Regions from separate parts of the Homo sapiens genome. Here regions 2 and 3 are each linked to region 1. Evidence: promoter capture Hi-C in 16 types of primary human blood cells and fetal thymus (Javierre and others, 2016). All regions are on one chromosome and are shown on one strand. The core of a region is centred on a gene start or on the middle of the fragment in contact, and the rest is flanking DNA. Distances in the headings are between cores, read along the strand shown. Region 1 holds the start of VPS18 (VPS18 core subunit of CORVET and HOPS complexes). Region 2 overlaps INO80 (INO80 complex ATPase subunit). Region 3 overlaps INO80 (INO80 complex ATPase subunit).

The links. The method cuts DNA at HindIII sites, captures the fragments that hold promoters and counts their contacts. A CHiCAGO score of 5 or more calls a contact.
Region 2: a contact is called between a fragment that was not itself captured here and the fragment with the promoter of VPS18 in region 1, in 12 of 17 cell types (megakaryocytes, monocytes, erythroblasts and 9 more). The highest score is 11.0, in megakaryocytes.
Region 3: a fragment that was not itself captured here is called in contact with the fragment with the promoter of VPS18 in region 1 in 4 of 17 cell types (M1 macrophages, M2 macrophages, M0 macrophages and 1 more); the score reaches 7.3 in M1 macrophages.

What each region holds. Positions count from the first base shown.
Region 1 is chr15:40,892,932-40,896,135 of GRCh38, forward strand. VPS18 (VPS18 core subunit of CORVET and HOPS complexes) reads left to right here and starts at 1,519. Exons shown (of 5, transcript NM_020857.3): 1 at 1,519-1,928; 2 at 3,007-3,148. The coding sequence starts at 1,838. RefSeq lists a silencer at 1,235-1,404 and an enhancer at 2,245-2,334. The HindIII fragment of the contact is 16,460 bases long and covers 1-3,204 here.
Region 2 is chr15:41,005,646-41,008,849 of GRCh38, forward strand. INO80 (INO80 complex ATPase subunit) reads right to left here. Exons shown (of 36, transcript NM_017553.3): 28 at 1-42. Among named protein-coding and RNA genes, the nearest start is that of INO80-AS1, 9.6 kb to the right of the region's middle. The HindIII fragment of the contact is 2,234 bases long and covers 490-2,723 here.
Region 3 is chr15:40,989,011-40,992,214 of GRCh38, forward strand. The region is part of intron 29 of INO80 (INO80 complex ATPase subunit); the gene reads right to left. Among named protein-coding and RNA genes, the nearest start is that of INO80-AS1, 26 kb to the right of the region's middle. The HindIII fragment of the contact is 1,020 bases long and covers 940-1,959 here.

The sequences.
Region 1 (3,204 bases), core at 269-2,768:
ATGGAGCAGGGCAGCTCCCTGTCTGGGATCACTTTTCTTAGAGGAAGCCTCCTGCCTATTGTCCTGCTCCTGCACTTCCCTCCTGGGACCTGGCAACCTCAGGTGGGAAGGCTGCATTGAGGCTGCAGGCTTGGTCAAGAGAAGCAGGACCCTGGTGCGAAGGGAAATGAGCCTGGACAGCATACTTGTCACCTGCCCCAGGACTAGTGCCCCTCCAAGCCAGAGAGCCCAGATAGCCCTCAGTGGGGCTGGTGAGAGTCACAGTTCTCCGCACGTGGCCAGGAAGTTGAGCAAGAGTAACCCAACCACATAAGGTATGGTGCAAACCTGGAAACTTCTGAGAGCAAAGGGATGCTCTTAGTTGTTAGGCGGGGGCCGCCCAGCAGAGCCAGGACGGTGGCGACCCTAGTCCAGAGCCTTCCACTTTAGCAAGGTAGAATCCAAGGGCCCCAGAAGGGAACAGACTCCATCTGGGTCGCCTAAGCAGGTGAGAGAGGAAAACCCAACCACAGTCGCGCCCCAGCCCTCGCAGGTCCCTGGCTGAGGACTCCCCTCTCCACCTCAGGCTGGGCGGCCCCCGCCTTCACGCTTGCTCCCACTTGTCCCTCGTTCTTGCTAGGCTTGGCAGGTATTTGTTCCCTGCTCCTTCACGCTCTCAGTGCCGTGGCCACGTCGCTGGGTACGCCCCACCAGGCAAGAGACATTTTCCGTCTTGTTCTCTGCCACGTCCCCAGAGCCTGGAACAGTGCTTGGCACAGAGTGGACGCTCATTCGTGGAGTAAGTGCCTGATGGATAATCCATCACTTGCTTTTCTAGTATGAATGGTCTATTTACGGGTCCAGCGCCCCTGCTGGCTTACGACCTTTTCCAGGGCGGGGAGGGGCTGTCCTCATCTCTGTGACCCCAGCGCCCAGCCCAAGGCCTGGCACAGAGTAAGTGCTCAACCACATTTTGGTGAATGAGTGAATGGAAGCGGCCCAGCAACCCTGAGCCAAGGAGCCACTGTGGGGCAGGTCAGGGCGGTTCCTGGCACAGGGCTTCCCACTAGCCTGGCCACCAGCTCTGCGGTCTCCTGGAAGCTGGGGGGCCTTTGGGTAAGGGAGAAGAGTGGCCAGGAGTTGTCTGCGTGTGCCCTGTGACGGTGGGATAGAGACAGCGATTGGATTGAGGAACGGGAGGTTCCCCGAGGCTGTTTAGAGAGGCGGGAGCGGGAGCTGGTCAGGGAGGCTGGACAGACCACCCGAGGGAGCGGAGCTTGGGCACGAAAGCCAAAACTGGGCGGCGCGGGGCGGGTGGGGAAGGCCGGCTGAGAAAGCCGGGATTGCCTCCTGGTGTCAAAGCTCGGAACTGCAGCAGGATCCTGGGGGCGGGGCTTGTGTTCAGCAGCACTCGCCACGCGCCCAGCCCTCAGCCCTCGTCTCGCCTTCTGCTGGCTGGCCCGGCGACGTTGTGCGCCAGCGTACGCGGGGCTCTGAGAACCCGGAAGTTACGTTTTAGGCCCGCGTCACGGGGGCGGGAGTCAGCTGAGCTGCCGGGGCGAGGTTGGGATCACCTGGCACCGGCTGAAGGGAGCCTGTGATTTTTTTGTAGCGGGGGCGGGGAGTAAGGTGCAAGACTGCGCCAGATTCAAGGACGAGGGCTGCCCGATTATCTCGCTGCATAAGGCAAGAGCAAGAGGATCCTCAGGATTTTAAAGAGGAGGCGACGGCTGCAGGTTCCCAGGATCTGTCAGAGGCTGGGGAGTTACAGCTTCCATTCTGGGGCGACGGGGACCCCGGGGGGGTAGCCCTTTTGTAATCCCCAGGCCCCGGACAAAGAGCCCAGAGGCCGGGCACCATGGCGTCCATCCTGGATGAGTACGAGAACTCGCTGTCCCGCTCGGCCGTCTTGCAGCCCGGCTGCCCTAGCGTGGGCATCCCCCACTCGGGTAAGGAAGAGGAGGGTGCCGCTGCCCCTTTCGGCTCTCCTAGCATTTGCGTGGGAGCAGCGAGGAGGGCAGCTCCAAGAGCTCGGGGTCATCCCCTGGGCCGTGCCTTCCGGGTCTAGGCCCCTGATTCTCCTCAGGCTCTCTTGGCCCCCAGCTGGTGGATAGTCGAAGTTTGAAAGAGCAACGGGAGCTGCCGCGTGATCTAGGCTCTACCGCTAGGGTCCTTTTGAGAGGGAATTGGGGCCCAGATAAGGAATTACTCACCTACAGGGCGCAGTTGGGCTGTTGGGAGAACTTAGAATGGGCTCCCGGCTTCTGCTGATGCTTTTCCCACCAGGCCCCTTCTGGAGGTGGGAGGGAAGGAATGGACAAAGAAAGTGGTGAAGGCGGAGTATTGCAGAGGAAGAAGGGAGGGTCCCAGAGGGAATTTTGTCGCTGAACGGGGAAAATGGAGATGAAATCTTTTTGGCCTTGGCTATAGCTGGGTGCAGCCTGGAGTTTGGGGACGTTTTTGTAGAAAGTAGTGAGTCTCCAGGAGAATGAGGGCATAGGGAGCCCTGGGGAACTGTTCCAGTGAGTGGAGTTAACGAATTGGAGCTGCTTTCACTCTAGTCTTTACCTTCATTCAATGCTCAAAATATCCCAGCACTTGCCAACTCTACACTGAGGCTCATTACCGCATGGGCAGGGAGGGGGGCAGAGAATGGGGCTATACTACTTCAGTTAAGCTGGGATTGCTGGGCCAAAGACCTGATAAGGGAGAATACCCAGACCACCAGTCCCGTCCCACCTCCACGCAGCCCCATTACCAGTGGGAGCAGGTATATCATGCTGTGACAGCATCTTAAGGGTTCAAAGAATCAACCCCTCACTGCTGTCAGAGTGTGGAAAGAGCTCCAGACCTCTATTGTAAAGGTGACCAGCAAACGACTTGATATCAAACTATTTGTTAACCAAGGTCCTGGGGATAGGAATATGTCAGGAAAGTGGCGAGGAGCACTGTGGTGTTTTTTCTGCCTCTCCTTGCCCTTCACCTGTCTCTTCCACAGCTAATCTTCTTGTCATTCCTTACCTGTAGGGTATGTGAATGCCCAGCTGGAGAAGGAAGTGCCCATCTTCACAAAGCAGCGCATTGACTTCACCCCTTCCGAGCGCATTACCAGTCTTGTCGTCTCCAGCAATCAGCTGTGCATGAGCCTGGGCAAGGATACACTGCTCCGGTAATCAAGAGCTCACAGAGCTTAGGAGTAGGGACTAGAGAGGTGTTTGGGGACTG
Region 2 (3,204 bases), core at 357-2,856, 110 kb after region 1:
ATCAAGCCTCATGTAGGTATGCTTCCTGTAAACCATGTATTCCTGCCAACCAGGATAAAAGGACACAGTAAATCTGATGCAAATTACTGTATTCTGATTTCCACAGGCATCTACCCATCTTCTACCTTGTCCACACTGGAGGCAAGCCATTATAACCAGAATGGGGAGAGAGTAACCCCAAGAGTACAAGAAGTTAATCTGTAAATGAGTTTACTGCCAATGTGTGAAAATCCAGGGCAATCTGAAGATTATAATCACTCTCAATTTCAGTTTGGAACCTAATCTTATTCCTGTAAATTCCTGTAGGTTTCATTAAAAAAAAAAAAAAAAAAAATTCCACAAACCAAAATAGTTTTTCAGTCATCAACCAGATATCTTTCACAGCTATGAAAATACCTACTTTTTTTGTCAGTGAATAACATTCACTGAAACGAATGTGTTTCCCCAGAGCAAACCTTTACTGATTAAAATGCTTAAATTTACAGCCTAAGCTTCCTTCTCCCAACAGAGCATGCATCACTGTTATGGGAGGCCTAAGCATCAGAGTAAAACAAAAGACAAGGTAATTTTCTATGGCAGAGAATGTTCTTGACATCATCAAGAGGAATTACAACTTTTAAGAATGAAGAGACTCCAAAAGATACAATAGAGAGACTGCCTCTCCATTCTTAGAAATTGCAATTCTTCTTATAGTTATGTCCAAATGAACATTTATTTCCTCTTTTGTTATCTCTGATTATGCTACAAAAAGTCCACTTGTAGAAGAACTAGTATCAAAAACTCAACACAGCTGCCTATTTATAAGAAACAGCATAAAATAGTTGATTCGGTTCTAAAATAACTTCTCTATTGAAAAAGACTAATCATTTCTACATTTGGGAAATGTTTGTGTTAATTAGTTTTCTGTGGTCAAATGTTCTTATACTGCAATATTTTCATATGTAACTCTTATACTTGGTGGGGCATTTTAGCACATCAGGTTGCTGTAGTTTGGAATATCTGGTGCAGCGTATGTGACAGCCTATTCTTAGATGGAGTGAGTGCCAAGAACTTGGCAGAGGTCTCTGGCTAGGGTACATGTGAAGCGAAGCTGGTCAACAAAGTAGACAAGCTCATTGACATATGCATCTTCATTGTGTTTTATATTTGGTTTAATTTTGATTTTTTAATTTTTTACCATTTCTGTCTCAAAGTGGTTCCTTAAGAGCTGTGATAATCAAAGAGAAGCATAAAATAAAGTGAGCTTCAAGTTCATACTTAGTGGTATTGCTATATCGTAGGACTGAACTAATGGCAGAAGGGTAGGGGGCGTTTTGGATAAAAAGGACTTCAAGAAAGAAGGTATAAAATGATAGCAAGATGATGGTCCTTAGAGGCTTGCTATACCTTTTGCAGCTAATCCAATCACAGAACGTTGCAATCAGAACAACAAAGTAACTAGACAATACCAAGACAGTTTACAGAGACACCCAAAACACAGATTATAATTTTAGCAAAAAGGTAGGCTTCCTGCACAGGCACTCTTTTTTTTTTTTTCTTTTTTTTTTTTTTTTTTTTAGACACTGTCTTGCTCGTCACCCAAGCTGGAGTGCAGTGGCACAATCGTGGTTCACTGCAACCTCCTCCTCCCAGGTTCAAGCGATTCTCCTGCCTCAGCCTCCCTAGCAGCTGGGATTACAGGCAACTGCCACCACACCTGGCTAATTTTTCTATTTTTAGTAGAGATGGGGTTTCGCCATGTTGGCCAGGCTGGTCTTGAACTCCTGACCTCAGGTGATCTGCCCACCTCAGCCTCCCAAAGTGTTGGGATTACAGGTGTGACCCACTGAGCCAAGCCTGATTTGCCTTTTAAACTGAACTTCTAGCCTCATAAAAGCATTGATGAATGAATCTTCTAGTAAATTTTGCTGTTTATATATTTATATATCAAGGCCAGCACAACCCCGGGGATATTAATCCTAGACCATAATCAAACCAACCCTGATTATAGAGAGCCTGTTACTGAGGCAACAGAAGTGAATTATTCCCTTCCACTGCTTCAAGTCTTAGCTCTTGAACTAAGACGAGCAGTGGGACTTCAGGCTTTAGTAAATTTAGAGTCTATTTCAGTAAATAGCTTCAAAAAAAAAAAAAACAAGAAAATGGACATGGAAAGATGTGTTAAAAGGCTGAATAGAGCGACATCTACATCCTCACACTATAGGAAAACACCTAAAAGACAAAGGTTGGGGCCAGGTATGGTGGTTGGCTGGACGAAGTGGCTCACGCCTGTAATCCCAGCACTGTGGAAGGTCGAGGTGGGTGGATCACTTGAGATCAAGAGTTCGAGACAAGCCTGGCCAACATGGCGAAACCCCATCTCTACTGAAAATACAAAAATTAGCTGGGTGTGCTGGTATGTGCCTGTAGTCCCAGCTACTCAGGAGGCTGAGGTGGGAAGATCATCTGAGCCCAGGGAGTTTGAGGCTGCAGTGAGCCAAGATCATGCCACAGCACTGCAGCCTGGGCAACAGGGTGATTGTCTCAAAATAAACAAACAAAACAGGTGAATGGATAAAGAATATGTGATATATATACATACACACACACACACACACACACACACACACGAATATTATTCAGCCTTAAAAAGAAGGAAATCAACATGAATAAACCTGATTCTGTTAAGTAAAATATGCCAGACATGGAAAGACAAATACTGCATGGTTCAACTTATATGTGCAAGCTTAAAAAGTTAAAACTCATAAAAGTAGAGAGTAGAAGGGTGGTTGCCAGGGGGTAGGGGAAATGGGGAGATGTTGGTCAAAGGGTACAAAGGTTCAGTTATGCAAAATGAAAAAATCCTGGAGATCTAATGTACATCATGGTAACTAGAGCTAATAATATTGTATCGTATATGTGAACTCTTCTAAGAGAGACAATATCACATGGTCGACCTTAAATATATACAATTTTTATTTATCAAGCATACATCAATAAAGCTGTAGCTGGAAAAAGCTTCAAAGATTATTCTGATAGCCTATATCAGCAGCTGAGAGCAACCACTAGAAAGGGAAGGCAAGGCAGTTTCCCTTTGAACCTTGCCATTCAGCATGGCCCTCAAATGGGCAGCACTTGTACCACCTGAGGTCTGTTAGAAATGCAGAACTGAGGGACACATCCCTTACCTAGTAAATCATAATCTGCATTTTATTTTTATTTTTT
Region 3 (3,204 bases), core at 200-2,699, 96 kb after region 1:
TCTCAAAAAAAAAAAAAAATTAGCCAGGTGTGGTGGCAGGCACCTGTGGTCCCAGCTACTCAGGAGGCTGAGGCAGGAGAATTGCTTGAACCCAGGAGGCGGGGAGTACAGTGAGCTGAGATCATGCCATTGCACTCCAGCCTGGGCAACAAGAGAGAAACTCTGTCACAAAACAAAACACTGGGGCTATGCTGGAAACAGGCATGGCTTTCCCTAGAATTCTCAGGCTCTCATCAACAGTCATTTACTAGCCCATGAATTCCCAGGATGGAATGTTTAAAGGGTTCTCTGGAAGTGACTTCTAGTTTGCTGAGCAACAAACAAATTAACAACAAAATATATCACCACTAAGTGAGTGATCCTAAAACAAACTCCTCAGTCCTCAACCCTTGAGGCTACCATCCAACATGGCGGACCAGTTCAAAATGGCCCTCATATCTCATGTGTTGTCCTTTATATCCAATCAAAAGTCACCAAATCCAGCCACTGCTTCAAAAATGAACCTGTCCTTTCTACTGTAACAATCCCACTGTTTCCATTCTAGACCAGGCCCTCACAACCTACATCTGGATTAGCACTCTGTTACATCAGCAGGACTCTTAGATCTCGGTCTCTTTCCTCTTCAGTCTACCTTGGCTACCACTGTGGGCCACTCCAGCTCTCTGCCAGTTACACACCTGCCTCAGCCTCCTGAGTAGCTGAGATCACAGGTGCCTGCCACCATGTCCAAACTCTCCTAAATAATCAGGCCCTGCTATAGAGAGCCAACTTTATTTTCTATTCTTTCCTAACACAAATATGCCCTTTCCCTTTAGTCAGATGGGTCTCTTCAGTGGTCCTGGCTTATAATACATTTGTGTACACCTCTTATTGCTCAAGCTGTTTCTCTGAACTAGAATCCCAAAACTCTTCTTTATTGGTCCTTTCAGGTTTAGTTCAAGCTTCTAGGAAGCTCGCCCTGTTTTCTCTTGCCTATAATAATGTCTCCTTTTCTTTTCTTATCCCTATTCCCCCTGGATTCCTATTAGAAATAATAATGGCTAAAATTTGTTGGGTACTTATGAGCCCAGGACTAGTATGCATATATCTCTCACTGAATTCTAAAAAAAAAAAAATCCTATGTCTATCCTCCATCTTACAAGCAAGGAAGAGACTGGTCTGAAATCACAGCAAGGGGCTGGGGTGGGGAGTGACCTAACAGTCTCCCTCCACAACCTACAGTAGTAACAAAACTTGGCATTGCCTACCTACCTTGGTCCAAGTCCCCACTTAATCACTAACTTCTATGGTGTCAATTATTTCATGTGTACTATTTGAAAGAGTGAGTCATCTTTCTTGAAACTGTTTCTGTCTCTCTTTTTCTTTTCTGAGACAGGGTCTTGCTCTGTCATCCAGGCTGAAGTACAGTGGCATGATCTTGGCTCACTGCAGCCCCAAACTCCTGGGCTCAAGCAATCCTACCATCTCAGCTTCCCAAAGTGTTGGAATTACAGGTATGAGCCACTGCACCTGGCCAAAATGGTTTCCCTCCATTTTTAGCACAGGTTAGAATCCTTGGGAAGAACAATGTAAACTGCTGGCGAAAGAAAGTCACCGTGAATGCTTATTGTTAATCTAGTGTCCTGCAAACCTAAGATTTAGAAGTGCACAATGCTTGTTGCCTCTAGAGGAACTTAACAAACCTGACCACACGACATTTTGGTTTCAAAGAGGACATAAGAACTTCCAGAAGACCAAGTTTGAACTAGAAGACCAAGTTTGAACTTTCAGGGAGAACAGAGCTAACAAAAGTGAAGACCTTCAGTTGGACTAGAGGATAACATTACTTGCCCAGTGTATTTTTTTCATCTTTTTTTCTGGTTCATGTTGTCCCATGATGCCCAATGTATTTAAAATGACCACAAATGTGGAATTTGAGGGCTGATGTCACACCCAAAAGACAGTATCTTGAGCTGTCTAAGCTTGAGGCTATGGTTCAGCACGAATTCATAATGTGGGGATGTGGGTGGTGGAGGTGGGTGGAGGGAGAGCCATATAATGAATTGTTTCATAAGTACTGTCTTAACATTTACATTTTTTCCTAGAAGACCCAGTGGCAACCAAACCTGATTCAACTTGTGTTCTTTTGAGCTCATGAACAGTAAGATTAAAGCCTAAGGAGATGGGTTTACAATCTTAACTTCAAAAATCTCCAAATATGGAAGATATTTATCCTTTACATGGATTCCAAGAGGTGGGGAATTTGGGAGGAAAACAGAAAAAAATAGGATTGTTTAGAAAAATACCTGTGCAGCGGAAAATATGAAATACGTACAAACTAATAGGTTAAGAACAAGAGTGAGAGAACTAAAAACCAAGGCAGATGTATGGTTACCATCTAATCTAACACTGAATTAACCGTGATGTGAACTGGAGGGAGTGGTGAGGGAGACAATGCACCACTGTGGAACAGGGATGATGCCTATATTTGGCAGTTGGGTTTATGGAGCTCAGTGAGACATTCCAGAAAAAAACAAGTAACAATTAAAGGATTAGAACAACTGATTTAACTAGGAAAGATTAAGGCAAGTCAATCCACAAAGCGTGGCCCAGCAGTGACTAAGGAGAAATAGTAGTCAATGCCTTCATGACATTGTAAACACCAAGCAGGGCAGGCACAAGGGAAGAGAGGTGAGAGTTACCATGCGGTAGAGGGGCCTGGCTGTATAGGTCAGTGAGAAGGAGTTTCAGGGGATGAGAGAATGAGATTTAAAACAGGAAAATTTCTTTCTTTTTTTTTTTGAGATGGAGTCTTGCTCTGTCGCCCAGGCTGGAGTGCAGTGGCAAGATCTTGACTCACTGCAAGCTCCGCCTCCCGAGTTCACGCCATTCTCCTGCCTCAGCCTCCCGAGTAGCTGGGAGGGACTACAGGCGTCCGCCACCATGCCCGGCTCATTTTTTGCATTTTTAGAGAGACGGGGTTTCACTGTGTTAGCCAGGATGGTCTCGATCTCCTGACCTCGTGATCCGCCAGCCTGGGCTTCCCAAAGTGCTGGGATTACAGGCGTGAGCCACCGGGCCCTGCTGAAACAGGAAAATTTCTAGAAGAACAAGTGGGAAAAGTTGGACCAACACTTGGAGGGTGGAGCTTTTTCTCCCAAGAGAATAAGCGGAGGTTCGGCCTCTGCAGAGGGCTAAAAGCTGTCCTGTGAGACAGGACTTCTT